Linked DNA regions of Homo sapiens: regions 2, 3, 4, 5, 6 and 7 are each linked to region 1. Evidence: promoter capture Hi-C in human tissues and cell types (Jung and others, 2019). All regions are on one chromosome and are shown on one strand. Each heading gives the region's core, a stretch centred on a gene start or on the middle of the fragment in contact. The rest is flanking DNA. Distances are from core to core; before and after follow the strand shown. Region 1 holds the start of SIPA1 (signal-induced proliferation-associated 1). Region 2 overlaps PACS1 (phosphofurin acidic cluster sorting protein 1). Region 3 overlaps GAL3ST3 (galactose-3-O-sulfotransferase 3). Region 4 overlaps POLA2 (DNA polymerase alpha 2, accessory subunit). Region 5 has its middle 9.7 kb from the start of DRAP1. Region 6 holds the start of TIGD3 (tigger transposable element derived 3). Region 7 holds the start of FOSL1 (FOS like 1, AP-1 transcription factor subunit).

Region 1 (3,980 bases), core at 1,481-3,980:
CTGAAGGAGGAGGGGGCTGCTCAGAGGGGCCTGGGCAGAAAACAGGAACCCAGGCCCCCAGCCTGGTCCTCCACCACCCGTGTTGGCTTCCGGCCCCCTCCGAGACCATCAAAGCTGCTTCCGCTTTCCAGGCCACTTCCTTGTCTGCCTAGGGCTAAAGTTTCCAGCCCCCTCCCCAGCTTAGCTGGGCAAGGCTAGAGGCTGGGCTGTTGGGTCTTGGTCCTGAGGGTCCTGGAGCCTGGGCAGCCCTGGGACTGCCAGGGTCCCCCAGTCGCCACCCACACACCTTAGCTTTGGCCTGGGCCCAGAGTAAGGGTCCCACCAGGACCTAGCCCAACCGGACAGATGACTTGTATTGGCTGGGACGGGAAACCCAGGGGCCACTGGTGTCTGGGTCCTGCCCACTTAACAAAGGGAGGACGTCCTGTCCCCAGAGACCTTCCTCCTTGCCCCTCCCACTTCCTTCAGGGTCCCTGGAGAGCTGATCACCCAGAGAGGTCTGATCTCAGTGCCCTGGACCTCAAGGCCTCAATACCACAAGGACACATGGGTTCCCAGGGAGGCAGCGGCAGGGCAGCAGGAATGGCAAGAGGACTTCCTTCAGCACAGGAAGTAGCCCCAACTGTGGGCCCAGCCCTCTGCCAGGCCCCCACATCCTGAGGAAGGTGCTGGGGTCACAGCAGCTGTCATGGGACCCCAGTCACCCTGCCCTGAAGGACAGGCCAACTCACCTTCTTGCAGGCTACTGTGCCCAGGCTTGGGGGCAAGAGGAGTCACAATGACAGGGACCCATAGGGACCTCTGCCTACCTGGTCTCACTGATGCAGACAGGGAGGTCTGAACCCCATGTGACAGATGGTCAGATGAGGTCCAGAGGAGATGCTCTTGCCTGAAGCAATTCCGTGTCAGAGCTAGGATGTGAGCCTGGGTCTGCCCATCTCCAGGCCCTAAGCAGGGCTGCACCTGCCCACTGCTGTCTGTGTGCGTAGGTTTTGGGGGGTGGGTGTTGGGCTGAGGTTCAAGGTCTCACAGGATGCAAGATTGAGACACCCAAAGCCCCAGGGACCTGCTAAGTGCGGAAACGTGACGCCAGAGGCAGGTGCAAATGGTGGTGTGAGAACTTGAGGGAAGCCACACCCAGGCAAGCCCTGGATGGAGTAGGCAGTGAGGACAGGGAGCTGGGGAACCTCCACTGGGGGTACAGGCATCTAATGGTGGGTCTTCATGCAGCATCCAGCAACATCATGCGGGGCTGGGCCGGAGGGGGGTGGAGGAGGGGCTCCACACACCCTTCGTCTGGGGCCTCCAGAACCAAGCAAGAGTCGGCTCCCCAGCCCAGGTGCTTCTACCTTGATTTCTCCTGAATAAACTCCCATGCTGACCTTGAGCCTCTGTTTTCTCATCTCTAAAATGGGGTTAACTGGCCGGGTGCGGTGGCTGTGGCCTGTAATCCCAGCACTTTGGGAGGCCAAGGCGGGGGGATCACCTGAGGTCAGGAGTTCAAGACCAGCCTAGCTAACATGGTGAAACCCTGTCTCTACTAAAAACATAAAAATTAGCCGGGTGTGGTGGTGCGCACCTGTAGTCCCAGCCACTCAGGAGGCTGAGGCAGGAGAATCGCTTAAACCTGGGAGGCAGAGGTTGCAGTGAGCCGAGATCGCGCCACTGAACTCCAGCCTGCGGGACAGAGTGAGACTGTCTCCAAAAAAACAAAGAAAAAAATTGGGTTTAATTATTTCTGTCCCCTCCCAAGGCTGCTGAGAGACTGAGAAGAATGAGGTGAGTGTCGCTAGCTATGTGTGTGTGTGACGGGTGTAGCCCCTGGCTCCATGAGCCAAGCTCTGGGCACATTCAGCGCTCGGGCCTGGGCTATAGTGTGTGAAGGAGTAGGAGGGCATGAGGGAGGGGGTCTGTGCAAGCCCCGCTCCTTGTGGGCTGAGCTCTGCACGCTTGGAAGTGAGATCTGTGCATGTGTGCACCCAGCCTGTGCGCTGCCTCTTGCTGTGGCCCAGTGCCAGGCTCTGGCGCTGCCTTGAGGGGTGTTCTCGGGCTCTGCCCCCCACCCTGAAGCTTCACACAGGGTCCATTGAGGCTAGGACATTCCTCCGGGCCTGTGTCACTAGGGGTGGGGGGAAAGGGCCGGCCCCGCCCCCACAGATCCGGAAGGCCTGGCTGCCCCAGGAGGAGGAGCTGGCCACTTCCCAGCACATCTGGAGGTCATGACCCCATTTCGGCTGCCAGGGGGCGCGACAGATGTTTCCTCCCAGGCCAGGCCAGGGACTGGGGTGGAGGCCGCCTAAGAAGAAGAGGAGCCTCAGAATAAGGGGGAGCCCCGCACACACTTGCAGTGTTGAGGGGGAGGGGGTCACAGTGCCGCCACCAGGAGTCAGGAGCCGCCGCTTCCACTCACCGGCTGGCTGGCCAGGCTAAGCCGTCACACAGAGAGAGTAGGAACGGCTGGTCAGAGACAGGGGGCTGGACATATTGACTCGGGACTGAGCTGGAGCCCGGAGGGAAGTTGGGAGGGTGCTGGCGGCGAACGTGGCGAGGACCCCACTCCCATACACATCACCCGGGCCCACGGCTAGGCCACCTCTCCCCTGTCGGGCCCGACAGTAGTGCCTCCCGTCCCCTGCTCCCGCCAGTACCTCTGGGGCTCCCGCCCAGCCGCCGCCGCCCGCGCTGGGGTCCCGCTGCCGCTCTCCCGCTACCGCTCCCGGCGCCGGCTCCGCCTGGGGGCGGGGCCATGCTGGGAGGCGGGGCCATGCCGGGAGGCGGGGCCGGCCGGGAGCTGTCTGCGGCGGGAAGCGCAGCAGCGGGGATTCCAGGCCTGGCGGAGGTCAGCACCGAGCAGTGCTCATTCTAAGGCCATTTCCTCTCCTGAGAAACTTGTGCCTGCCTTCCAGACCAACCGGGAGGGCTAGCGGAGGCCACCTAGCGTCCAGCTCCCGGCCAGCAGGTGCTCAAGAGTCTGCCACTATTTTATGGAGCACTTGCTAAGCACTGGGCCCTGGGCAACCATTCCACTAGCGCGCTCTCATTTATTCTAAAAACACCTTAGATAGGTGTCATCTCTTTACGCCCTGGAGCAGCTGAGGTGCAGAGAAAGGCTTTGGCCAAGAACAAGCCTGATAAATGTAGGAGCCACCAGACCTGGAAGTCTGACCATATGGTGGGAAATGGCAGACAATACCCTTCAGATAAAGGCTTGAAAAGGGAGCAGCCATGCGGTGAAGAGGACCCGGTTCTACCTGAACCCCACCTTGGTCTGCCCTTGATCTCTACTAGACTTCAGCCCCACATCCTTCACCCCTCTGCGTGCTTGTCCATCCCAACTTAGCCGCCTGTACTATCATGTACCCATTCCCAGGTAGAAAAAGAAACTGCCAACCAAAATCAAAAATAGTGTTATTAATTCTGATGTCTCCGAAGCACAAAAAAAAAAAAAAAAAAGAAAAGAAAAAAAAGGAAAGAAAGAAACCACCCTTCCCACAATTCAGGCCCCAGGTCCAGGCCAAGGGGGCCACACCTGCAGGCAGTGCAGGCCCAGGGGCTGAGGTGGTCCTGGCCACAGGCTCCAAGTGGGACCAGCCCATGGTTTGGCTCTTAGGGCCTGGCTGGGAGGCTGACTGCCTCCATCTGGGGAGCCCAGGCCCTGGACTGGGGATGAGAGAGATCAGGGGTCAAGGTCAGAGGTCTGGGTCACTCAGTTTTGGTACTCTGGCCAAGGCAGCCAAAGGTCAGGGTTCAGACATGTAGGCCAAAGCCACTCAGTTCTGTGGTCCAGCAGAGAGGCAGCAGAGCAGGTCCGTTACTGAATCCTAGGAGGTGGTCCAGTGGGCGCCAGGTAGCTCAGTACTGGTGTTCCAGCAGGGGCTGGGCTGCCGGGCTCTCACGCTCCTCAATAGGGGCAGGCCAGTCGCCCAGGGCACCCATAGGTGTGCCACTCTCAGGGGCACTGCTGTCCAAGCAAGGAATGT
Region 2 (3,980 bases), core at 763-3,262, 440 kb before region 1:
ACAAAAAAAACTCCCTCAAGAGCTCTGTTACACAGATCTCATTCTCACAGAAAGTCGCTAAGATAAAGAGACGACAATAATTATTTTTAAAGAAAACAAACAGAAAACTGACACAAAGAAGTTAAATGAACTATTGGTGTCATCCTTGAATCCTTTTGTTCTGTCACACCTCAAATCCAATCCATAGGCAAATCCTTCAGGCTTGACAATATGCCCAGACTCCCACCACTTTCTCATCTCCACCTCCACCACCCTAGTCCAAGCCAGCATCAGCTCCCACCTAGATCATCACAGCAGCCCCCTGACCGGACTCCCTGCTTCCACACACAGTGGTCAGGGGTTCTTTTAGGGTGGAAGTGACCATCATGCCTCCTCGCTGGCTCAAAAGCCCCAGTGACTTCCCATCTCACTCAAGATCAAAGCCAGAGTCCCACAATGGCCTGTGAGATCACCTGTTTTACCTCTCTGACTTTATCCATTACTCTCTCTTTAATTCACCTGGCTCCAGCCAAACTGGCCTCCTGGATGCTCTGGAACCTGCCAGTACTTCTTGTTCCCTCTACTGGGGGGCCTCATCCCATAAAATGCACCCAGCTTACCTAAATGTGTGTTCCATGTGGCCGGCTCGCTTTCTGAGGTCTTTCTAGACCACCTTGTTTAAAACCGTGACCTCTTTCCTCTGCCCACTTATCCCCATCCAGCTTTATTCTTCCCGTCCAACACACCCTAATATTTGCTCACTCACTCACTACTGCCTGCTGCCCACCCTGTCCCCAGAAGGTAAGCTCCGCAAGAGCTGGAATTTCTGTCTGTTTTGTTCACTGCTCTCTCCTCAGTATCCAAGCAGTGACTGGTCTGTAATGTGTGCTCAATAAGTATCTTTCAACTAAATGAGGAAACAGTAAAGGTATGTGCAGGAAGAGTTACAAAGACTTATCCAAACCCACATGGTGGGGTAAAGCCAAGTGAGAAATCAAACTTTAATGTCAAAGCATTTCTGGCACATGGTTTTAAAGAGACTATAGCAATTTGCTGGCTTTTTTTTTCCTCCACATTTATTATAATTGGCAGAAATATCTAAATGACAAACAAGAAAACAGAGCCACAGTCCTAAACAGTCATTCTTCTATAGCTGTTCTCTTAAGTGGATTTAAATATAATGAAGCCTCTCCACACTTGATACAAGGCATTCATTTATCAGTGTGGCTGCCTTAGAACCAGGCCCTTCTGGAGCCTAAGTAAACATATCACTTGGCCCAAGTCCAAAGCATACAAAACCAACCTTCTGCCAGATCTTAGATTTGGGAGACCATGACCCATTTCCAGCCCAAGCTTGCTTCCCCAGTGAGATGATACTTTCCTTTTTCTCCATGGAGGAAAAAGTCAACCAAAGGGATTAATGGCCAGTGTTTAATAATTACGGCCATTCTTTTTATACTTTTTTTAAAAGGAGAGATAGGACTACCTACAAGTAATAAAAACAAAGCAATAATGACATTACATGCGTTTAATGAACAATTCTCCCCACTAACGGCAAGGGCATAAACAATTTATTGCATATCTTGGTGGCAGAGAGGAAATACAATTAAATCCATTAATAGCCACAGGAGTTTTTATGTTCCCAGAGGACCTTGGTTTCCAGAGTTGCTTATTCATTTTCATCCACAGCAAAAGCAGTGCATGGGAGAGATGACAGAATGCTGTCAACTACTTTCTACATATTTTAACTCTGAGGACATAATTTCATAAACAATAGACTTAAGGCATATTACACTGCCCCATTCCATCGCCTGTGATTTAAAGTACCAAACAAAAACCTGCTTGTGAAGACAATGTAAAAGGTGGCTGATATGAGAGCTGCTGCAGTATAAATATTATACCATCATATTCATAGTTTCACTGACACTCCTCAAAGATGTGAAGGTCATGATTTCTATGAACATAGATGCTCAGACATTTTATTTTATATTTTTTGAAACAGAGTTTTGCTCTTGCTGCCCAGGCTGGAGTGCAATGGCATGATCTTGGCTCACTGCAACCTCTGCCTCTCGGGTTCAAGCGATTCTCCTGTCTCAGCCTCCCAAGTAGCTGAGATTACAGGCGACCGCCACACGCCCGGCTAATTTTTTTGTATTTTTAGTAAAGATGGAGTTTCACCATGTTGGCCAGGTAACTCCTGACCTCAGGTAATCCACCCACCTCGGCCTCCCAAAGTGCTGGGATTACAGGCGTGAGCCACAGCGCCCGGCCTGATGCGCAAACATTTTACAAACAAACATTTTATCTATCTTCATAACAAATGAGGTGTTTTTTTGTTTGTTTTTTTTTAAGGTGGCCAGACATAGTGGCTCACACCTGTAATCCCAATACTTTGCGAAGCTGAGGTGAGAGGATCACTTGAGGCCAGGGCAACATGGCAAAACCCCATCTCTATAAATAATTTAAAAATTAGCCGGGTATGGTGATGTGGACCTTTACTTGGAAGACTGAGGTTAGAGGATCACTTGAGTCCAGGAATTCGAGGCTGCAGTGAGCTATGATTGTACCACTGCACTCCAGCCTGTGGGACAGAGTAAGACTGTCTCAAAAACAAACAAACAAACAAAACCAAAAAACTAAAGAAAGCAGTTGTGCCCCATGTACCAGTCTACACTCTTCATTAAGCCCTGATGTTTACCATGAGAATCCATTCATCATTAAGATCCAGATTCAAGGAAATGTTAATCTGTGTTTTATACATTCTTAAAGAAGAACCAGAAACAAGTAAATATAATTGTAGATTTCCAACCAAAATGGAAAAATAAAGTCCTGATGCTTATTAAAGGTGAAAATTAACATACACCCAAAGATCTACATGTTTCAGGAGAGACCACAAATGTATTATCAGGTTTCTCCTGTAAAAGTAGAATGTAGTTTTTCTATGGCTTGAGACACAAAAAGGAAAACTTAAAAAGACAAGAGAAAAAAAAATTAACTACATTTAAACCCTCATTTTCCTAGGAGTTGCTCAGTTTTCACCGGTGACAAATGGCAAGCTGTAAACCGGTTCAGTTGCTCTTCTGCTGCCAAACCAGGGCTAAAGAAGTCAGCAGGTAAAACAGGGAAGCTGTCAAGTCAAGCTGGCTCAAAACAAAGCTGTGGTTTGCAGGCGGGGCCTGTACCATCTCTTCCGTTCATATAAGCTGGCAGGATGTAGAAACAGGATCCCGACCCAGCCACTGCTTCAGAGAACCAAAATATTTTGTTTTGACTTTGTAGTCTAATAAGCTTGGGGTTTGGCAGGATCTGTGCCTCAGGTGAACCCAAGACCTTGTGATGGTCCCACCGAGGAAATCTGAATATTACCCTAATTCTAGAAAGAAAGCATGTTTGTTTTGTTTGTTTTGTTTGTTTTGTTTTGGTTGGGGGGGGCAGGGAAGACGGAGAAATTAGGTTGACAAGAAAAACAGCAACAGTAATAGCTGATATTAAGTGCTTTCTATGTTGCCACACACACGATTAACATGTGTTAATAACAAAATTAACCTTATTTAATTCTGATGATAATCCTGTGAGACAGGGACTTTTCTTTTCTTTCTTTCTTTTTTCTTTTTTTTTGAGACAGGGTCTTGATCTGTCGCTCAGACTGGAGTGCAGTAGTGCGAACACAGCTCACTGAATTCTTGACTTCCTGAGCTCACACAATCCTCCAGCCTCAGCCTCCCAAGTAGCTGGGACCACAGGCGTGTGCCACCAAGCCCAGCTAATTTTTTTTTCTATTTTTTGTACAGACGGGGTCTCCCTATGTTGCCCAGGCTGGTCTCGAACTCCTGGGCTCAAGCAATCCTTCCACCTCAGCCTCCCAAATTGCTGGGGTTATAAGTATGAGCCACCACACTCAGCAGGGACAATTATTATGCCCATTTACAGATGAGAAAAGTTGAAGCATTATAGAGGTTAAAAACTTGTCCAGAGTCACTCAAATAGTAAAATCTGACCTG
Region 3 (3,980 bases), core at 837-3,336, 410 kb before region 1:
CATGAGACAAAGACGAGTTAGGAGCAGGCAGAGAGACAGAGACAGGGCTGAGGGATGGGAGTGGCTACAGCCTGAAGGGCTGGCTACACCCCAGACCCTGTAATTCCACCCAAGACTAAGTTATCTGGAGCAGTGAGGAGATAGGGTCTTGATAACGGGAGGTAGGAATCCGATCTGCCCTGGCCTCTCTGCTTACCCCACCTGTTGGAGCTCTTTGCATCAGACCTGCTGGGGGCCAGATCCCATCTCCTCTGCCCACTGCAAACCCGTCTGCCTTCTTCTGCCAGGCTTCTCGGGAACACTGGCCCTGCTACCAGAGCCGCAGGATCCCCCATGAGTGCCTGTGAAGGGAGTCCTGGATAGTGAGGCCCTGGCTGGTCCAGGGGTGGGTACTCCGCCATGCCACCCATCCTCCAGCGCCTGCAGCAGGCCACCAAGATGATGAGCCGCCGGAAAATCCTGCTGCTGGTGCTAGGGTGCAGCACCGTAAGCCTTCTCATCCACCAGGGGGCGCAGCTCAGCTGGTAAGGGGGCGGGGCCCCAGGGGGGCCGGAGCTCCCCTCCCCATTCTTCCACCTGCTAGAAGGGTCCTGCTAGGCTTTGCTCCTCCCCTCTATTCTGAAAGTGCTTTCCCTTTAGGGCCACACAGCCTCCCTGGACAGGGACTGCTCTTCAATGAAAGGGCTGAGTGACTTGCTCAAAGTTACAGAATCAGTTAGCTGAGATCCGAATCCAGCTCAACTCCCCACAGCATGCAGCTAAGCATTTCCCCAGTGGAAACAACTTCTCACAACTTCCGTAGTGCTGGGCAAGGCCAAGTCCCCTCACTTCTCCGAGCCCCCGTTTTCTCATCTATAAAGTGAGACATGATATGTGTGACACAGCCAGTCACCCTCACACAGGATACCATGTGATTCATGGGAACCCCAACCCTACTCCTGACTCACTGTGTGAACCCAACAAATCCCTGCACCTCTCGGAGACTTCATGTCCCCATTTTCTACACTGTCTGCCCCTGAGAATGGTGTGAATGCGCCCAGCCCCCCTTGCCAGATAATTTGGTTTGAAATCCCAAACACCCATGTTTTAAGAATGAAGCAACAGAAATGAAAGCTTCACGAGGGCTAGGATTGTTTTTGTATATTACTGTATTTCTTGAACCTAGCATTAACCTGGCACATAGTGGACACCCAAAAAATATTTGATGACTGAATTAATGAGGCTTTAGAAGCCTCAAGAGAAACATAACAATGGGTTGCTGCAAAGCCCAGTGCCAACCATCTACAAAGTGAGGAGCCAGTTAAAGAGTAAAAATGAGAAAGAGCAAAAGGATTTAGTGACCATGTGAGTCGTCTCCAGACTTTGTGTAAGTGATTGTTCTCCTTTTGGCCCTCAGTTTCTACATATACAAAGTGGGATTCCTCAAAGATCTCCAGGGGTCTTTGTCCCTTATTTATTTCTACATAAACAAATTATCTTAAAGCTTAGCAGCTGAAAACACAAACATCTGTTATTTTGGGTCAGGAAGCCAGGTGTGGCTTACTGGGAACTTCTGGACCAAGGTCTTTCATGGGGTTGCAACCAAGGTGTTTGCTGGTGATGCAGTCTCATCCGAAGGCTTGATTGGAAGGGATCAGCTTCCAAGCTCACTCACGTGGTTTTGACAGGCTTCAGGTCTTCAAGCCGGCTGGTGGACTGAGGGCCTTAGGTCCTTGTGGGCTTTTCCCACTTAGTGGTAGCTCCCTATAGGGCTGCCCACTATATGGCAGCTTGCTTCCCCCATCATCTGTCATCCCAGATTGAGTGAAAGACACCAAGATACTAGCCAGCCACAGTCTTTCTATGATGAAATTTAAGAAGTGACATCCCATCATTTCTGCCCTCTTCTCTTCTTTAGATGCAATGATAAGTCCAGCCTAACTCAGGTGAGGGGAATACTCAAGGGCATGAATACCAGGAGGGCAGCAGGGATCATAGAGGGCATCTTAGAGGCTACCAAGCACCGCCCTCGACCTTTCCATGAGTGCAGCCCAGGCGGGGCCGCGCTGTGGGGCATCCCACAGTCCTTGGGTAAGGGCAGGGGTCAAGCGGCAGCCCCCTCACACCCTCCTCTCCGCACACTCCCTGGGCCTGGCAGGTACCCCAAGCTGTTCCCCTTGAGCTGCCCTCCTCTGCGGAACTCGCCGCCGCGCCCCAAGCACATGACTGTGGCCTTCCTGAAGACTCACAAGACGGCAGGCACGACGGTGCAGAACATCCTGTTTCGCTTTGCCGAGCGCCACAACCTGACGGTGGCCCTGCCGCACCCGAGCTGCGAGCACCAGTTCTGCTACCCCCGCAACTTCTCGGCGCACTTCGTGCACCCGGCCACGCGGCCGCCGCACGTGCTGGCCAGCCACCTGCGCTTCGACCGTGCGGAGCTGGAGCGCCTCATGCCGCCCAGCACCGTCTATGTCACCATCCTGCGCGAGCCGGCCGCCATGTTCGAGTCGCTCTTCAGCTACTACAACCAGTACTGCCCGGCCTTCCGGCGCGTACCCAACGCCTCGCTCGAGGCCTTCCTGCGCGCGCCCGAGGCATACTACCGCGCTGGCGAGCACTTCGCCATGTTCGCACACAACACGCTGGCCTACGACCTGGGCGGCGACAATGAGCGCAGCCCGCGCGACGACGCCGCCTACCTGGCGGGCCTCATCCGCCAGGTGGAGGAGGTTTTCTCGCTCGTCATGATCGCCGAGTACTTCGACGAGTCGCTAGTGCTGCTGCGGCGCCTACTGGCCTGGGACCTGGACGACGTGCTCTACGCCAAGCTCAACGCGCGCGCCGCCAGCTCGCGCCTGGCCGCCATCCCCGCGGCGCTGGCGCGGGCGGCGCGCACCTGGAACGCCCTGGACGCCGGCCTCTACGACCACTTCAACGCCACCTTCTGGCGCCACGTGGCGCGCGCGGGCCGCGCGTGCGTGGAGCGCGAGGCGCGCGAGCTGCGCGAGGCCCGCCAGCGCCTACTGCGGCGCTGCTTCGGGGACGAGCCACTGCTGCGGCCTGCCGCGCAGATCCGCACCAAGCAGCTGCAGCCGTGGCAGCCCAGCCGCAAGGTGGACATTATGGGCTATGACCTGCCCGGCGGCGGCGCCGGCCCGGCCACCGAGGCCTGCCTCAAGCTGGCCATGCCCGAGGTCCAGTACTCGAACTACCTGTTGCGCAAGCAGAAGCGCCGGGGCGGTGCGCGGGCTCGGCCCGAGCCCGTCCTGGACAATCCCCCGCCTCGGCCCATCCGAGTGCTGCCTCGCGGCCCTCAAGGTCCCTGAGCTCCGCAGGCCTCCAGGAGTATGGGTCCTGCCCTGCCCTCCCAGGAGTCCAGCCAGGGGCTGCCTCCATGTCCTGCCCCCATGAGAGCCCTTTCTTTTCAAGGGGCTTGAGTCCCTCGCTGAACTTTGGGGTACGCCTCCCTATCTGAGCCCCCGCTCCCGATCGTGGGCTGAACCTTGCCTTCGGGCACGGCGCTGATAGGCTGGATCCAGCGCTGGGCCACCCTCTCCTTCCCAGCTGGTTGGTGATTTTGACAAGAGGCCTGAGGGCTGTCCAGAACTGCTCACCCTGCCTTTTTCTGGGGGCTGAGCCCCCACAACCTGTCTTTTCCAAGTGGATAAGCCCAGGCCCCATGGAGAGAGGCTCAGCCCTAGGGAAAGGCTGCTCTTGCTCTCCCTCCCAGGGCTTGAGGCTCCCTATACTTTTCTGTCTTCCAGGTTCTACCCTCCCCACAGACCTAAGCTGCTCCCAGTCTCCCAGAACCAAGAGTTCTTGGGTTGGGATTTTTGTTTGGTTGGTTTTTCTTTTTTTTAATAAAACATCTTTAAAATGTGCGAGTTGTATGTCAGTCATAGAAGCCGGATTCCCCACATTTGAGGATGAAACGGATGCCCAGGAGGAGCTGTGGCTGGACCCATGAGGATGGGGGCCTGGACTCAAGGTCCCCCGCC
Region 4 (3,980 bases), core at 1-2,500, 360 kb after region 1:
CGCATCTGCCCATGCTGCATGTAAATAAATTCTTTTTGAAATCGTACATCTTTTCCTTTCCAAGGCAACCTTCAAAAATACCTGTTAAACATTAGTCTTTAAACAACATGCTTCATGTAGGCAGAACTCAGGCGACAGCACGACCAACGCTCACTGGGCTCAGACCAGGGGTCTTGTGACAAAAAACCTACGAACTCATGATGGTGGCGCCCTCACTGCTTGGTCACATTGCTCTTCAGCAGCTTCTGCAGCTTTCTTGGGCTTGGGAAACTGCACTCCTGGACTCATGTCTACCATCCTCATTGTTGGCAAAACAATATTTGAACCGAAACTCACCTGCATCCTCTTCAGTGGGCTGATAAAATGGAAGTGGCACACCCTAAAAACAGGGGAAAAGCTCAAGTAAGGTCTTGCGCCAGGCATCACCTTGGTAAGGAAAGGGGAGGGCACCAGGTTGGGGGTGGTGCAGGTGTGTGATGGGAGGACAGTGGGGAGGAGCGAGAGGGCAGGGGAAGGATGTGCCTCTGTCTTGCTCCCTGGATCTGATGGGACCTGCCATTTTTCTATACTGCTCAGAGGGCAAAGAAACCCAGGTAATGGGAGGTCACTACTCAATTGTCATAAAATACCCAGCAACAAGTGGGAGCAAAACAGGTGCCTAAAGTATCAGTGTACTTCTAGGCAAGGATGGGAGAGAATGGTTTCTTGCTACTTTTCCTGGCATTCTACGAAAATCTCTGGAGGATTGTTGCCTAGAGCAGGGATAGGTAACCTTTCGGCCTCTGGGCCAAATTTGGCTGCAGCCCACTATTTAAATAAAGTTTTATGGGAACACAGCCACAGTCATCTGTTTAAGAGTCCTCTATGGCTGCTTTTGTAGACAAAGGCAGAATTGAGTCATTGTGACAGAGACCATATAGCTACAAAGTCTAAAAGAGTTACTGTCTGGCCCTTTATAGAAAGGGTTTGCTGACCCCTGGCCTAGGGGTGGGTTCCCACTTACAGATGGAGAACTGACTAACAAATAAATGGGCTCCTAAAAAGGACCAGTTTCTAGAACAGACAGCTTCCAGACATACTTTGTCTGAAGCAAACCAAGAGGCAAGTGGGGGTACTGCTGTGTACCTCGTAGAGTTTGGTGGCAACAAGTTTCCTACCAGTGGTGTTGATTCCTTCCATAATTACAACCTGAAAGACAAAAACAAACAGGATTGCTAAGCAGTGGAGATCAATGAGGTCTGGAATACATTATTTTGAGGCAGTTAAAAGCATTGTCCAACTACTCTCATTCTGTAATCATAAACTTAGGGCATTTTTGTAGAAAACGAATTAAGGGCGTTGCATTAGTAATAATAATTATGCTCTATATAAGTGATCTAATTTTCACAACAATCCTATGAGGTAAGAATTATTATTTCCATTTTGTGAGTGAAGAAACTGTAGTTTAGATGGTTAAGTACCTTGTGCACAGTCATGCACCTCATGGAGCGGGGAGTTGGGATTTGAGGCTGCGCAGTCAGGTCCCAGAGCCTGGGTCAGAGCATGGGGGAAACAGGAATCCCAACAGTGGTGTCTGCTCTGGGGCATGTGCTCCAGCTGCACCCCATGGCAGCAGAGACAGGAACTGAGGAGCAGCTGCGCATGGCACAGCACCTACACTACAGGGGTAAAGAGTGCGCCTGCATTCTGGTGGAACTCCTCCAATCTCACCTGTCCAGGAAACAGAGAATATTCCTTAAGCTCAGATAAATCCACTGGAATTTGAGCACCCGAGGAATGTTCCCGGTCTCCCTCGAGAATCACTGACTTGTTGTTCAGCTTCCCGTTGCTATCACAGCCAATCTGGCCCAGCAGAGTGACAGGCTCCTACCAAAGGAAGGTCACAGCATAAGAATGACAGTCTTTGGAGCAGGAGCTCAAAATCTGAAGTCGATAGGGTGAATAGCAAAACAAACTGCAAACAACAAATACATTTCTTGGCAGGGCATTGCTTTGACCCTGAGGTGACTACCGCGTCATCACTGACTCTCAGGATGGAAGAACTCTGAAAGGGCATCTTGTCCACCCATCCACCCAGCACTTGAGCCTTCCTAGGAGGCTGCCTAAGTGTGAGCATCTCTAGTGTAGGGGAACTTGCCCCTGGATGCCTACCCCACCCTGTCCTCACCACCCCAGGGCAGCCCACTGCATCTTTGGGCAGCTATAACTACTTAATAATAGCTAACATTTCTTGAGCTTACTAAATACCATGCACTGTTCTAAAATGTATTCTTAGGCATTTTATATGTATTAACTCATTTAATCCTTGCAACAACCATCGGGTGGATATTACTGTATCCATTTTACAGATGAGGAAAACAAGCAACAGAAAGGTTAGATAATTTAGTCAAGGTCAAACTGTGGGTGAAGCTTGGGTTTGAAACCAGAAATTTGGCTCTAGAGCCATATCCTTAGCCACATACCATACAACCTCTTAACAGGAAGTTCTTTATTAATTGAGCTAAAATCTCTGTCTCCATGGCTTCCTCTGTTCTGTTCCCACTCTTGGGAGAAAACAGAGGAAGTCTCATCTTTCCCAGTGATTGTGCCTCCCTGCCTTCCCTCAATTACTTCCTTCCAAGTCCTCTAACACTTCCTTCTATGACACAGTTCTGCATCACTTCCCCAACTGATCATTCTTTGAATGTAAACATTGACAAAGGTACTTTAAAGAAACTTCTAGAATATATTTCCCCTTAGATTAGAAAACATTCTAGAGAGAAAGCACTGGTATATATGCCAGATTAAACTATGATATAAAGATACTATTGGCAGCAGTTTGTCTATAACAAGAGACCAAACCAGGGGAGAGACTGTGAGTCATTGTCCAGAGAACAAGATTCTGAAAACCCCACCGTCGCTGCTGTCCTTTTATCTCGATACGTGAATGCTTCTATTTGTGGGAAATCCCCGGGGAGCTACCTGACTCACCACCAAGGGAAACAAGGCCTTGAGTCTCTGCTTATGTGCAAGACTCTAATCCAAGTGGGAAGAAAATCACTCTCTGGCCACAAAACCAGACAGCACTTACAAATCTTTCTTCAGAAGGGCCCATTTTCCCAAATTCAACCAAGACAGATGTTCAAACTAGAACACAGACAAGAAGTGAAAAAGGAAGCAAGAAGGATGCCTCTTGGTCATCGATTTAAAAACGTAATATTAATTAGTGAGAACTATTAGAACAACTCTTACCTGTGCTGGGGCTAGCAAAGGAGTGAAAGCTTCAATCTTGTAATGTTCCTTGAGTTCGCTGCCAAGTTCTTCTATCTTACAGGTCAGAACTACAATCCCAGAAGTGGAAAAAAGTATTATGTTTAAGACATTTCACTTGCCAAGAAGAGAAAATACAGCACATTGTAAAATATTAAAGTCAGTCATTTTACAGAAGCAGGAAGGGTGCCTGGACATCTGGCCAGTTTAAACCTTCTAAAACCTTTGCCAATTTTCCGATATTTGGTTGCTGAATCTGGCCTTCCATCTGGCCACAGGAGACCCCATAGCACAATTCCAGGGAATCAGCATGAACCCCACCCCATCTCCAAGTCTGCCCTTTACTCAAGTCCTCACTGAGGTTTTAGGCAAGTCAAGGCCAACCTGAAGAAGGCTTCTAACGAAGGAACCATGAATATCTTTAAGTTGAATTCCTTTACATCGTTCAAGTTTTTGCTGCTGGGAATGGTTATGTGCGTTTTAGCAAAGTGAAGTGACTTGGGGCAATCACTGATAGTATTGCCCGTGTCCCTCCATTACTAGGGCTTCCATGAGGACATCTACCAACTCATACATTGAAAGGCAACCTTGGAACTTGTTCTACCAGCCTAGCTGAAGCTTTGTTACTCTACACCCTTCTAGGTGGTTTTATATCCACCAGAATTTCAAAGGGAAAAACAATCACCTTCTCGAATGTCTGGGAGCTTCTGAAACATGGATTTGTAGCTCCC
Region 5 (3,980 bases), core at 706-3,205, 290 kb before region 1:
CGTGGTGGCGGGCGCCTGTAGTCCCAGCTACTCGGGAGGCTGAGGCAGGAGAATGGTGTGGACCCGGGAGGCGGAGCTTGTAGTGAGCCGAGATGGCGCCACTGCACTCCAGCCTGGGTGAGAGTGCGAGACTCCGTCTCAAAAAAAAAAAAAGATTGCCAAGAGAGTGAGGGCCCCCATCCAAGTGAAGAAAGTGTTTCAAAGAGGAGGCAAGCGACCAACTATGACAAGAGCCACTGAGAGGTCAAGGCGAGCCCAAATGAGAACAACTGAATCGCCTGGACCCATTCTCCAAGGACTCATTGTGGGAGGCTTATTACAGGCTTTGGCTGTGCGAATGCGGCTGAGATTGGCCTTCACCACATCACACCGCAGGCCCCATCTGAAACTGTTCTTTTGCAGCTAAAGTCTAGGAAAAAATTTCTTTCCACTGAAGAAGTTTTCTCCGGAAAAAAAAAAAAAAGTTTTTTGCTTTGGCTGCCAGAAAGCTCAGAACTAAATTTGATATTGAATTAATAAAGCACTTTTACAGGCCTTTATGGGTTGCATATTTATATATGTATGCTATTGTTTCTGATCTTTATTTTCTCTTTTAATTATATTTTATTATTTTATTTAAAAAATTTTTTAATAATTTTTTTAGAGACAGGGTCTCACTATGTTGCCTAGGCTGGTATCAAACTCCTGGCCTCAAGTGATCCTCCTGCCTTGGCCTCCCAAAGTGCTGGGATTATGGTGTGAGCCATCCCATGTGGCCTAAATTTTTTTTTTTTTTTTTTTTTTCAGATAGAGTTTCGCTTTGTCACCAGGCTGGAGTGCAGTGGCACGATCTTGGCTCACTACAACCTCCATCTCCCGAGTTCAAGAGATTCTGCTGCCTCAGCCTCCCGAGTACCTGGGGCTGCAGGCGTGCACCACCACACCCAGCTAATTTTTGTATTTTTAGTAGAGACAGGGTTTCACCATGTTGGTCAGGATGGTCTCGATCTCTTGACCTCGTGATCCGCCCTCCTCAGCCTCCCAAAGTGCTGGGATTACAGGCATGAGCCACCACACCCGGCCTAAAATTTTTTGTTTTTAGAGATAAGATCTTGCTATGTTGCCCAGTCTGGACTCACATTCCTGGTCTCAAGTGATCCTCCCTCCTCGGGCCTCCAGAGTAGCTGGGAGTGCACCACTGGTAGCACGGGTGTATACCACTGCACCCATCCACATTCTTGAATCTCCATTTCTGTTTTTTAAATTTTACCTTCCTTGTTCTTGTTGGAAGCCACCTCAGGTGCACTGGGAATGTGGTTTGCAAATTAATCAATGGTATTTCATTTATTCGGCAAGCATACAATGATGTCTTGTAGTAGTCAGGTCTCTCTAGCATACAATTGGCCTAAATACATTATTAAAGATAAAAATAAATGTCTTCACCCATTCTCTGTTGCTTATAACAGAAAACCTGGAACTGGGTAATTTATTTAAAAAACGGAGTCTTGCTCTATCGCCCAGGCTGGAGTGCAGTGGTGCGATCTCGGCTCACTACAACCTCCACTGCCCAGGTTCTCGCAATTCTGCAGCCTCAGCCTCCTGAGTAGCTGGGATTACAGGCACCCACCACCACATCCAGCTAATTTTTGTATTTTTAGTAGAGATGGGGTTTTGCCATGTTGGCCAGGCTTGTCTTGAACTCCTGATCCCAGGTGATCTGCCTGCCTCAGCGTTCCAAAGTCCTGGGATTACAGGCGTGAGCGATTGCACCCGGCCACATGTGCTGTCTTGAGTCTCACGGCCACCCCTGACCAATGGCTGTGGGGAGGGTATCTTGACCAGCGGTCCTGGAGGTGCCACCTGGTTGGAGTGGGGTGGGCGTCAGTTCTCTAGGGATACGGATATGATTTGGGGTGGCCTGAAGGAAGAAGGGCAGGGCAGACCCATGCACAAAAACATGCCCACCACGTACCTACCACGTGCCAGGCCCTGTGAGACATCCTGGAGACACAGACGTGAATCCGACAGGCCCTGTGTCCCCAAGAGGGGCGCTTTCCAGAAGTGGAGGTGAAACCTGCAAGCACAGTTATCCCAGCCAGAGCATGGGAAGAAACTTGGAGAGGGGACAGGTGAAGGACTTGGGGAGTTCAAAGGATGAGGAGGGACTCTAGGTTCTGGCCTTGAGGAAGTAAGGTGAACTGAAATTGCCCTTTTTCTACAAACAGCTAAGAAACTGGACAAAGCACAGGAAACAAGTGTTTTCAGATATTAGACAAAGGGCAGCTCAGGGCTGTGATCCCTGAAAAACGGAAGATAAAGGGGAGGAGCCCTGACATTGCATAGGTGATTTTCCTACCACTGCACTGGGAGGGCAACCGTTGTTCTCACCGAGTTAAGAAGACGAGACCAGAGTTTGGGAAGGCTCATCTTCAGGGCTTCTGATCTAACTGAAGACAGGCCCAGATATGGGTATTTTAAAGTTCCCCAGGGTCGGCCGGGCACAGTGGCTCAGGCCTGTAATCCCAGCACTTTGGGAGGCCGAGGCGGGTGGATCACTTAAGGTCAGGAGTTTGAGACCAGCCTGGTCAACATGGTGAGAACTTGTCTCTACTAAAAATACAAAAAATTGCCAGGCGTGGTGGCGAGTAGCCTCCCCAGCTACTGGGGAGACTGAGGCAGAAAGGAGAATCACTTGAACCTGGGAGGCAGAGGTTGCAGTGAGCCAAGATCGCGCCACTTCACTCCAGTCTGGGAGACAGAATGAGACCCTGTCTCAAAAAAAAAAAAAAGAAAAAAAGAAAAAAAAGCTCCCCAGGGTTCTAAGATGTAGCCAGGGTTGAGAACCACTAGGCTAATCTGCAACTCCAGACAAAGGCGGAAGGGGGGCAGGGAACCCACAAAACAGAAACCAAACTCTAAGAAAACGGGTAAGAGGAAAGTGAAACCGACTCTGGGCACCAGGCTGGAATGGAAGAGCATCTGTGGCTAAAAACAGGGCAGCCGCACCCCCCTGGAGGAACCAGGGCCCTGCCCACCCACTTGCTTGCTGCGGCTTCAACACGCTGGCCTCCTCGGGGTCCCCTCTCCCCACTACCCCTGGAGAGGCGTGAATGTACCTATTTGTTTACCATCAGTCTGCTGCCCCTTCCCCCAACTGGACTGAGCTAGGGAGCAGAGGCTCTGTGTGTTTTCTCTGAGTTCACCTTCCCCAAGCCCAGAGCAGGGCCCGGCACAGAGTAGGTACTCAGCAAATATTTCTTGAGTGACTGAATGAAGACAATGTATGATCCCATGAATCCTGCAGGGCCATGCTTTACCCTGCCCTATGTGATGCTGTCCCCTGAGGTTGGGCCCATTCTGACAATGTCTTTTCTGTTTTTTCAACACAGGGTGCATAGAATCAAGCAGACATGCGCCTTAGTTTGGGGCACTCCATGCAGCCATAGGGCCCTGAAAAGCTTCCCTTTTCTTTTCTTTTTTGTTTGTTTGTTTGTTTGTTTGAGATGGAGTTTCGTTCCTGTTGCCCAGGTTGGAGTCCCATGGCACGATCTTGGCTCACCGCAACCTCCGCCTCCCGGGTTCAAGCAATTCTCCTGCCTCAGCCTCCCGAGTAGCTGGGATTACAGGCATGCGCCACCATGTCCGGCTAATTTTGTATTTTTAGTAGAGATGGGGTGTCTCCATGATGGTCAGGCTGGTCTGGAACTCCCAACCTCAGGTGATCCGCCCACCTTGGCTGCCCAAAGTGCTGGGATTACAGGCTTGAGCCACCACACCCAGCCTAAAGCTTCCCCTTTCAATGGACTCTCCCCTTCCCTGCATCCCAGTCCTACTCCTGCTGCTTTGAGCCACGACATCCCCTTGTCTGTTTAGTACATGCCCTTCCAATCTGCTTTCCAGGATCTTATTTCCATAAATGTCCATAACAGCAGGCACCATTTATTGGGTGCTTACTGTATGCCAGGCACTGTGCTGAGCGACTTACATATCATATCTCATGA
Region 6 (3,980 bases), core at 1,381-3,880, 280 kb after region 1:
TCCAAGCTCAGACTTGGTGTCCCAACTTCTCTCCCTTCTACACCTTTACGACAGTTCTATTTCCACAGGAAAGAGACAGCCCGATCTGCCTTCTGAAGAGGCCGTTTCCATGGGAAACAAGAGAGGAAGGGGCTCTGGCAAGCAGTGAAGGCGCCTTCATAGGCAGCAAAGCCGCTCCACCTCCTCCTCACAGTCGTAGAATTTTTCGAATAGCTCAGGAGAAGTGCTGTTGCATTCAAACCACCTCCTCAAGGTGCCCAGGGCCCGGAGGGCATCAGCTTTGGTGGGCAGGGGCTCAAAGGCACCCTCTCTGTCCCCCTTCTCGTCTTCAGTGCCTATCTCCTCCTTACATACTCCAGACCTTGGCTCCTCACCCTCCAGGTCCACAAAGCGGGAAAACTCCTCCAGGCTCAGCCCGCCGGGGACTGGTGGCATCTCAGAGGTTTTGTGCGAGGACGGGGGCGTTTTGCCGGGAGCCAGCCCTTCTTGAATGAAGCTGCTGAAAATGAGCTGAGGAGGCACCTTGGCCCAGGCGGCAGACGCCACGTGCAGGGCGTCCAGCACGGTGATGCCTGCCCCGGCCTCGGCCAGCGAGGTGCCATCCCTCTCGCTTTGGATGGCAGCCAGTTTGCCCAACAGCCGGTGTCGGTAATGGGCCTTAAAGGCCCGGACCACTGAGCTGGGCAGGGGAGGCGTGGTGCTAGAGGCGGCCAGAGGCAAGAGCTTCACGTGGTAGAGCCCAGGCAGGCCTGCCAGCTCCTCCACCACTCGGGCAGCCAGCAGCAAAGCCACCTGTCGGCCCTGCTGTCCCATGTCCCGGTCAAACTGTGCCAACCACTCTAACCAGGGGATGCCCAGGTCCGGGTGGTAGGAGGCAGGCAGAGCCTCACTGCGGATCCCAAAGAAGCATCTCGGGGCAGCCTGGAGCCCACCCAGCAGTACCCGCCGCTTCTCGGTGCCCCTGCTGTTGGCACACAGCAGCACCTGTACTTGATCACATGCACCAAAGCTGCCGGGCACTGCCCGATACAGCAAGGGCAATTCAGCACAGCCAAACACGTCCTCTGGAGAGAAGTCTTTTAGGGAAAGAGGCAGCTGAGCCTGGGATGTGAGCCCCGGGGGAGGTGGCTCAGGGGGGAATGAAGGCGCAAGAACATGGCGGGCCCCAAAGCCGACGTTGTTTCGGCGTTTCCAGCGGACCAGCCAGCCGATGCTGGGCACGAAGTCCTGGCCCATGATATCGGCCAGCTCCTTGGCTTTGTGGAGCAGCATGGGCCCCGTCACGTCCCAGGCCTTGGCCCGGGCAATGTGGTACCAGCAGAGCAGAGCCTCGTCGATCCCGCTGTACTTGGACTCCCGCTTGCGCTTGCGCTCTCGGTTGGCTGTGCCGCTGCACCAGTCCGCCAGCAGCTTCTCCTTATTCTTGCAGATGCGCGAGATCTGGGGCTGGGAAACCTGGAAGCGCCGGGCCACCTCCGACTGGGACATCTTGGACTCATCCAGGAGTTCCAGCACCTGGATCTTCTCGGCCAGGGACAGGGCGTGAAGCTTCTTCTTGCTGCTCAGCTCCATGGCCTCTCCGGGGCACCTGTGCGGGGAGGAAAGATTGAGCGGGTAGAGTAATCTGAGGCCGGAAGAGCTAGGAAAGGAGCGCAGGAGGGAAAAGAGATTAGATGAGGACTTGCGCAGGCACCGGGTGAGACTGGACCCGCTGAAAGAGGAAGTGGCTAGGCCGAGTGGAAGCCGGCTGGCCCCGTCCCCAGGATGCCAGGGCAGAGCTGGGGAGGGGGCGTCTCTCCACTCAGAAGGACAGGGGAGTCTGGGCTGGGGTCTGGCCTCACTCGGGAAGAAGGATGAAAAGTGCAGGGGACAGCTGCAGAGATAACAAAGGCATACGGACGGGGGAGGGCCTGGGACTGGGGCCGAGGGGGCAGGTGTGGGGCTACGGGGCTGCGGGGGAGGAGCCCCCGGGAGGGAGTGGGAGGCGGCTTGGGCTGGATTCAGATGACGCCGCTGGGGGGTGGGAGGTGGGTGGATGCACACAGAGTTGAGGTGACAGGTGTACAGACGACAAAGGGGACAGAGGGTGTCTGAAGGAGCGAGGCTAATTTGGTGCCGGGTCCTGAGAGGGAGGCTAGGCGACGGTCAGTCCTGAGGGGAGCGAGAGGGCAGGGCCGAGGGCGCAGGTGCACGAGCGACAAAGGGCGGGAGGCCTGAGGAGGCTGCGGGCAGCGGAGGGGCGGGGTGTCCCCGCGGGGAGGGTGGTGGCCTGGGAGGGTCCCAGGGCGCGGGAACGAACGCCCGGACCCAGGCAGGCCGGCAGCCGGACTCCGTGCCCTGGCCGGTCACTCCCCCTCGACCCGGAGTATGTCGGCGGGGCGGCCCCAGGCGCCCGCCCGCCCGGCCTCCCGCTCCGCACCCACCTCAGGCGCTGGTCCCGCGGCTCCAGCCCCTGCCCCCAGCCCGGCTCCCGAGCCCCTGTCCGGGCGGCGACAGCAGAACAGGGGAGGGATGGGCGCCACGACCCCGAGGGCAGAGCGGACCGAGGGCCTGCGCGGACGGCGGGCGGGCGGGCGCGCGCACAGCAGAGTCCCGTGCGCGCCGCCCGCGCCGGGCTCTCTCCCGGCTGCGAAGTCCGCGGTGCGGCCCCTCTGCACCCACCCGCCGCAGCCCCGCCCCGGCCCAAGCAGATTGGTCCTCAGTGGCGCCCCGTCCCTCCCCCGGCTAAGTTTCATTGGACGTTGCGGAAGTGGCGGTTCGTCGAGCCCCTCTGGGGGCGGGGCTTCTAGCGCGGAGGGGCGGGAGGCGGAGCCAGGAACCAGCAGGACTCCCCTGGGCGCCTCCAGCAGCCGCCGACCCCGAGGGCCCGACGAGCCCTGTAGGTGGTGTGGTGACCGCCGAGCTGACTTGGCGTCCCAAAGCCTCCCTGGCCGTGACCCTAGACCGCATCGGCTTCTTCGTCTACCAAGCAGGGCTAACAGCCCTCACGGAATTGTTTTGGGAAAACGATGAAAGGAGAAAATGGATGCAAGCTTTAAGCCACACAAAAGCTGGTTACCATGGACAGCGCTGGCTCGAGTCTGTCGGCCACGGAAACACTGCATGCTTGGGCCAGTAATGATTTAGGACGAGTATTTTATTAGATTTGGTACTTTACAAGATTCAAGTTCTTAAACTCAAGATCTGGCATCGTTCCCTTCCCTGCTAACCTTCAGTCCCGAATTAAACGCAGACGTCTTGACCCGCAGCCCAGCTGCTCTCCAGCCTCGCTGCTCCCTCCGCTCACAGCTCCGCATCCTCTGCCTTCCTCACAGGCTTCCGTCCGCACCCCCGTCCTACCGGCTGACACTGTCCAACTCTCCAAGACCCATCTCAAATCCTACCTCCCGCAAACCCTTCCTAAATTTCCTCACCTAGGCCTGCTACAGCGTTCTTATTTTCCACATTTCTTTTCTGGCTCTCGGACTACTCAGCTGCCAAAGCGCATCCATTGCTGTACTCCCTCTCTGCCTGGCCTACTTCAGTGGAAAAGCATGAGGACGGGCTGCGCTCTGCTCCTCACACAATCCCCAGCCCAGAGCACCCTGCTTATTTATTGAACATAACAGTGCAGGCCGGCCTAGGCTTCCCATAGGCAAGGATGACTTTCAGAATGTTCTAGAAAAAAGGATACTTCAGGGGGCCCATAACTGCTTGATTCAAATCTTTCCTTTAAAAACATAAAAACAACAGTTGGACTTCTAAAACACACACTGAAGACATACGCGCTGCCACGTAAGCTCTCCACATGTTCACTTTGCCTTCAGGGAAACTGTGTGCACATCAACGTGCCCTGGGAAAGGCTGCAGGGCTGCACTGCGGGCAGTTCAGATCCTAGAGCACTTGCTCTGGCCTGGGAGCGCTGCAGGCAACTGAAGCCACACAGACCCTGCTCCTGCAAGAACTTTTGTGTGTGTCCCATGGTGATGTCATTAGTTTGC
Region 7 (3,980 bases), core at 884-3,383, 260 kb before region 1:
CACCTAGGTCACACAACTGGTGAGCAGCCTAACCACATTCAAACCCAGACCCCAGAGCTGTCTGACCCCAGCACGGGTGTTCTGTCCACGGATCATACTGCCTCAAAAACACTCTCCTCTCCTTTCTCTCTCTCTTTCTCTCTCTCTCTCTCTCTCTCTCACACACACACACACACACACACACAGAGATGATGATGACAAGAGGGTGACAAGCATTGGGTCGCTCAAAGGCAAAGGAGAGGCACCAGGCTGGTAACCACTTTCTGAGTGCATAACACTTTATAGCTTACAAAGCATTTTCACATCTGTGATCTCACTTGATCCCACAACAGCTCTGTGAGATCAGCAGGGAGGCCCAGTTGAAGGAAGGTGACCTGCCCAGTGTCACACAGACAGAAAATGGTAGCTCTGGGACTAGAACCCCAGGGGCAATCTGGACTTCCTGGCTCTAAGTCCTGAGTGCACCCACAGGCTTCTGGCCTGTGTTCCCAAGGAAAGTAGCCCAGAGGGCAAAGCTAGAGCTGATGAAATGGAAGGACCGATGGAGAAGCAGGAGAGCCCAGCCCTCTCTTGATCTATTTACTTTGAGTCTTGCTCTGTCCCCCAGGCTGGACTGCAGTGGCGCAGTCACAGCTCACCGCAGCCTCAACCTCCCTGGCTTAAGCCATCCTCCCGCCTCAGCCTCCAGAACAGCTGGGACCACAAGGCAGGCGTACCACCATGTCCAGAAAATTTTATAATTTTTTGTAGAGATGGGGTCTCAAATGGTTCTTTCTGCCTTGGCCTTCCAAAGTGCTAGGATTACAAGCATGAGCCACCACACCTGGCCCCAGCCCTCTTTCTGTAGTCGTGTGACAACTGACAGCTCAGTACTCCATCTGGGCCTCAGTTTCCTCATCTATGATGGAAGTAATCAGAGAGAAGCTTTGGGATGGTGCCCAGCACTAACATTCTGGATGTGCGACAAGGTGTCTGTGAAGGTGTAAGGGCTTTGAAAATCTTGGCTGAGCCTGGGCTTGGAGTGCCCACGGCTGTGACTTGGCAACCTGTGCCAGCTACTCACTTAGCGACTTCAAGCAATTCATTTCAGCATCTCCCAGCCTCAGTTTCCCCATCTGTAAAACAGAGATGAGGATGATACCTGCCTCACATTCACTCACCTTTGACATACTCTCCAAACAAGTCTGGTGGCCACAAGCCTCCGAAAGGCACTGACCGTAATGAAGATGGCGTTTATCAGACCTCAGGACACCTGTAGTGGCCCTGAATTAAAACTCGTTATAGCTCCTGAAATTATCCTGAGTAATACTATTATATTGCATTTTATGTGGGGTTAGTTCAAAGCATTACCTTATCGCAAACATTTAAAATATACCACCCAGCCTGGGCAATACGGCGAGACCCAATCCCTACAAAAAACACAAAAATTACCTGGGTGTGGTGACGCGCGCCTGTAGTCCCACTTACTTGGAGGGGGCGCTGAGGCAGGAGAATCCCTTTAGCTCAGGAAGTTGAGCCTGCAGTGCGCCGAGATCGAGCCACTGCACTCCAGCCTGGGTGACAGAGACCCGGTCTCAAAAATATAAAGTAAAATAAAATATGCCACCATTTTTGTAACCCTGGTTTGTCATTTATTCACTTTTCATATACTCGAAGCCTTAAAACAAGGCCAGTGGAAAGACCTCACTCCACGAAGCTTTGGGTGGCGGTTGGCGTGGCTCCTAGAGATGTGATTCTTTCGTGCTATTTTGTGGGAGCAGAAACGGAGGTTAGCCCAGGCCTCGAGAGGGCTGGGGCGGGGCGCGGGCTCTGGCAGGTGCGTCAGTCCGCAGGGGAACCCGGGGCTCCACCTGGGCGCGGCGAGGAAGTTACACCATGTATGGGCAGCTACGTCAGGGGGGCGGGCCCGCAGCCTCCGGGGAACGCCGAGCCGGGCCCATCCCGGTGAAAAGGCTGCAGCCGGACTTGGGGAGGCGTCGCCAAGTTCGGGACCGACGGGCCAAGGCGGCGCGTCTCGGGGGTGGAGCCTGGAGGTGACCGCGCCGCTGCAACGCCCCCACCCCCCGCGGTCGCAGTGGTTCAGCCCGAGAACTTTTCATTCATAAAAAGAAAAGACTCCGCACGGCGCGGGTGAGTCAGAACCCAGCAGCCGTGTACCCCGCAGAGCCGCCAGCCCCGGGCATGTTCCGAGACTTCGGGGAACCCGGCCCGAGCTCCGGGAACGGCGGCGGGTACGGCGGCCCCGCGCAGCCCCCGGCCGCAGCGCAGGCAGCCCAGCAGGTGAGTGGGGCCCGACGCCGGTGGTCCCACGGGAGGACCGCGCGTGGGAGGCCGGGGTCAACTCCCGCACGCTCCGGGACTGGAGCGGGGAACCGGAGTCGGGGCCGGGCTGGGGGCTGGGGCGAGGATCCTGCCCCTCGCCGTCCGGGGCCAGTTGCCCCCACCGCGCAGCGGGCAGCAGAGACCCGCGAACTCCCCTTCTCCCAGCCGCCCCCTTCTCCCTCGCCGTCCGCGTCCGTCCCTCCGTCTCCGTGCCCGCTTTCTCTCCTCCTGCCCACCTCTGACTTCTGCGTCCACCCTGCTTCAGAAGGGGCGTGGGCGCCTAGGGTGGTCGCCTCGAAGGCTAGGAGGGTCTCTCCGCTTCGGGCTGAATTCCTGGGATCTGGAGTCTGGGCTGGGGTGAGGGTCCCCACACGGGAGGGAGGCGGGATCCGTCGGGAGAGCAGCTGGGCCAGGGTGGGAGTCCCGGCCCGGTCTGCGACCCTCCGCGTGTCCGTCCGTCTGTCTGTCCTTCGCCCCTCCGTCGCCAAGTCCCTATCGTTTCTCGGCCTGGGGAGTCCAGGGGGGTCCGGGCAGTGGAACCTGCCAGGTCCCCGGAGACCGGCCCTCGATCCCTTTGCCGAATGCGGCGAATAGAGACCTCGAGGTTCCGGGACGTGCGCGGGGTCAGGCTGCGGGCGACTCTCGCGACCCCACTCTCAGCCCCTAACGGCGCCCGCTGCCCGCCGGGGGGCACCCGGGAGGCTGCAGGTGCCCATTTCCTGTCGAGGGGCTGCGAGCACGTGTCGACAGGGGAGGGAAGGAGGGGCGTCCGTTCCGCCGAGTCACGGCGGCCGAGTCACGGCGGCTGAGTCACCCGGGGCGTCCCTCCCTTCCTGGCCTGGAGCGGCCCGGGCCCGGGAGTGGGAGATGCCGCCGGCGGTGCCTCGGACCCGGAACTGGGGTCACTGGGACGCCGGGCCCGCAGCGCTTGGGCTCGGGCTACCGCTGTCGGGACTTGCCTGGGCTTGTGGGCGCTTCCCGGACGATTGGGCGCCCACACCCAGGGCCCAGCGGCAGAGCTAGAACCCACTTCTCCCAGAACACTGAGCCCCATCCCAACCCACTCCTCAGATAGCTGGCTGATAGAATGGGAACAGGGACGTTGTGCTGGGCGCTTGCTACATCATTTACCATATTTCACGGAATCGAAGACCTCATCGATTGAAAAAAAAACCCACTATAACTTTATGCCACTAATTTTCTTTCCTTCTCTTTCTTTTCTTTTTTTTTTTTTTTCTGAGACAGGGTCTCCCTCTGTTGCCCAGACTATAGAGCAGTGGTGCAATCACAGCTCACTGCAGCCTCAGCCTCCTGGGCTCAAGCAATCCTACTGAGATCCTAGCTGGGAAGCGACCTGGCCACAGGCACGCACCACCACACCCAACTAATTTTTTAATTTTTTTGTAGAAATGAAGTCTCACTGTGTTGCCCGGTGTGACCTCAAACTCCTGAGCTCAAGTGATCCTTCTACCTCAGCCTCCCAAAGTGCTGGGTATGAGCCACCATGCCTAGTCCACTAAAATTTTTTAAATTGCCAATTAAACTATGATTTCAGAGCTATTAAAGGGTACTTCTTAACATCAGTGAAATCCTGTAATCCTCACCTGTAACAATATTAAAAATGAGGAAACTGAGGCACATGGAGGTTAAATAACTTG

The links. Contacts are between HindIII fragments. The study calls those that stand out against the background at their distance.
Region 2: a fragment that was not itself captured here is called in contact with the fragment with the promoter of SIPA1 in region 1 in 2 of the 25 tissues and cell types used here (dorsolateral prefrontal cortex and spleen).
Region 3: a contact is called between a fragment that was not itself captured here and the fragment with the promoter of SIPA1 in region 1, in 2 of the 25 tissues and cell types used here (dorsolateral prefrontal cortex and lymphoblastoid cells).
Region 4: a contact is called between a fragment that was not itself captured here and the fragment with the promoter of SIPA1 in region 1, in 4 of the 25 tissues and cell types used here (bladder, dorsolateral prefrontal cortex, lymphoblastoid cells and 1 more).
Region 5: a fragment that was not itself captured here is called in contact with the fragment with the promoter of SIPA1 in region 1 in 4 of the 25 tissues and cell types used here (bladder, dorsolateral prefrontal cortex, lymphoblastoid cells and 1 more).
Region 6: a contact is called between the fragment with the promoter of TIGD3 here and the fragment with the promoter of SIPA1 in region 1, in 1 of the 25 tissues and cell types used here (spleen).
Region 7: a contact is called between the fragment with the promoter of FOSL1 here and the fragment with the promoter of SIPA1 in region 1, in 4 of the 25 tissues and cell types used here (dorsolateral prefrontal cortex, lymphoblastoid cells, spleen and 1 more).

What each region holds. Positions count from the first base shown.
Region 1 is chr11:65,636,851-65,640,830 of GRCh38, reverse strand. It overlaps SIPA1 (signal-induced proliferation-associated 1), which reads right to left and starts at 2,730. Exons shown (of 16, transcript NM_006747.4): 1 at 2,649-2,730. It overlaps PCNX3 (pecanex 3), which reads right to left. Exons shown (of 35, transcript NM_032223.4): 35 at 3,392-3,980. The coding sequence ends at 3,853. RefSeq lists enhancers at 2,098-2,167, 3,119-3,909 and a silencer at 2,518-2,887. The HindIII fragment of the contact is 7,218 bases long and covers 1-3,980 here.
Region 2 is chr11:66,080,850-66,084,829 of GRCh38, reverse strand. All of the region lies in intron 1 of PACS1 (phosphofurin acidic cluster sorting protein 1), which reads right to left. Among named protein-coding and RNA genes, the nearest start is that of PACS1, 13 kb to the right of the region's middle. The HindIII fragment of the contact is 4,404 bases long and covers 1-3,980 here.
Region 3 is chr11:66,041,835-66,045,814 of GRCh38, reverse strand. GAL3ST3 (galactose-3-O-sulfotransferase 3) reads left to right here. Exons shown (of 3, transcript NM_033036.3): 2 at 288-524; 3 at 2,138-3,980. The coding sequence starts at 400. The coding sequence ends at 3,308. Among named protein-coding and RNA genes, the nearest start is that of GAL3ST3, 5.3 kb to the left of the region's middle. RefSeq lists an enhancer at 173-372 and a silencer at 483-532. The HindIII fragment of the contact is 5,576 bases long and covers 1-3,980 here.
Region 4 is chr11:65,278,878-65,282,857 of GRCh38, reverse strand. It overlaps POLA2 (DNA polymerase alpha 2, accessory subunit), which reads right to left. Exons shown (of 18, transcript NM_002689.4): 6 at 3,935-3,980; 7 at 3,232-3,320; 8 at 1,711-1,866; 9 at 1,126-1,188; 10 at 337-379. Among named protein-coding and RNA genes, the nearest start is that of POLA2, 19 kb to the right of the region's middle. RefSeq lists an enhancer at 2,389-3,588. The HindIII fragment of the contact is 6,666 bases long and covers 1-3,980 here.
Region 5 is chr11:65,927,179-65,931,158 of GRCh38, reverse strand. No RefSeq gene overlaps it. Among named protein-coding and RNA genes, the nearest start is that of DRAP1, 9.7 kb to the right of the region's middle. RefSeq lists enhancers at 2,747-3,041, 2,756-3,185 and a cis regulatory region at 2,722-3,287. The HindIII fragment of the contact is 6,362 bases long and covers 1-3,980 here.
Region 6 is chr11:65,353,401-65,357,380 of GRCh38, reverse strand. It overlaps TIGD3 (tigger transposable element derived 3), which reads right to left and starts at 2,630. Exons shown (of 2, transcript NM_145719.3): 1 at 2,424-2,630; 2 at 1-1,588. The coding sequence starts at 1,572. The coding sequence ends at 157. DPF2 (double PHD fingers 2) reads right to left here. Exons shown (of 11, transcript NM_006268.5): 11 at 3,119-3,980. RefSeq lists silencers at 1,923-2,112, 2,173-2,342, 2,353-2,412, 2,433-2,752, 2,843-2,902. The HindIII fragment of the contact is 4,951 bases long and covers 1-3,980 here.
Region 7 is chr11:65,898,541-65,902,520 of GRCh38, reverse strand. It overlaps FOSL1 (FOS like 1, AP-1 transcription factor subunit), which reads left to right and starts at 2,133. Exons shown (of 4, transcript NM_005438.5): 1 at 2,133-2,280. The coding sequence starts at 2,182. RefSeq lists silencers at 1,742-2,341, 2,950-3,069, 3,035-3,262. The HindIII fragment of the contact is 4,995 bases long and covers 1,311-3,980 here.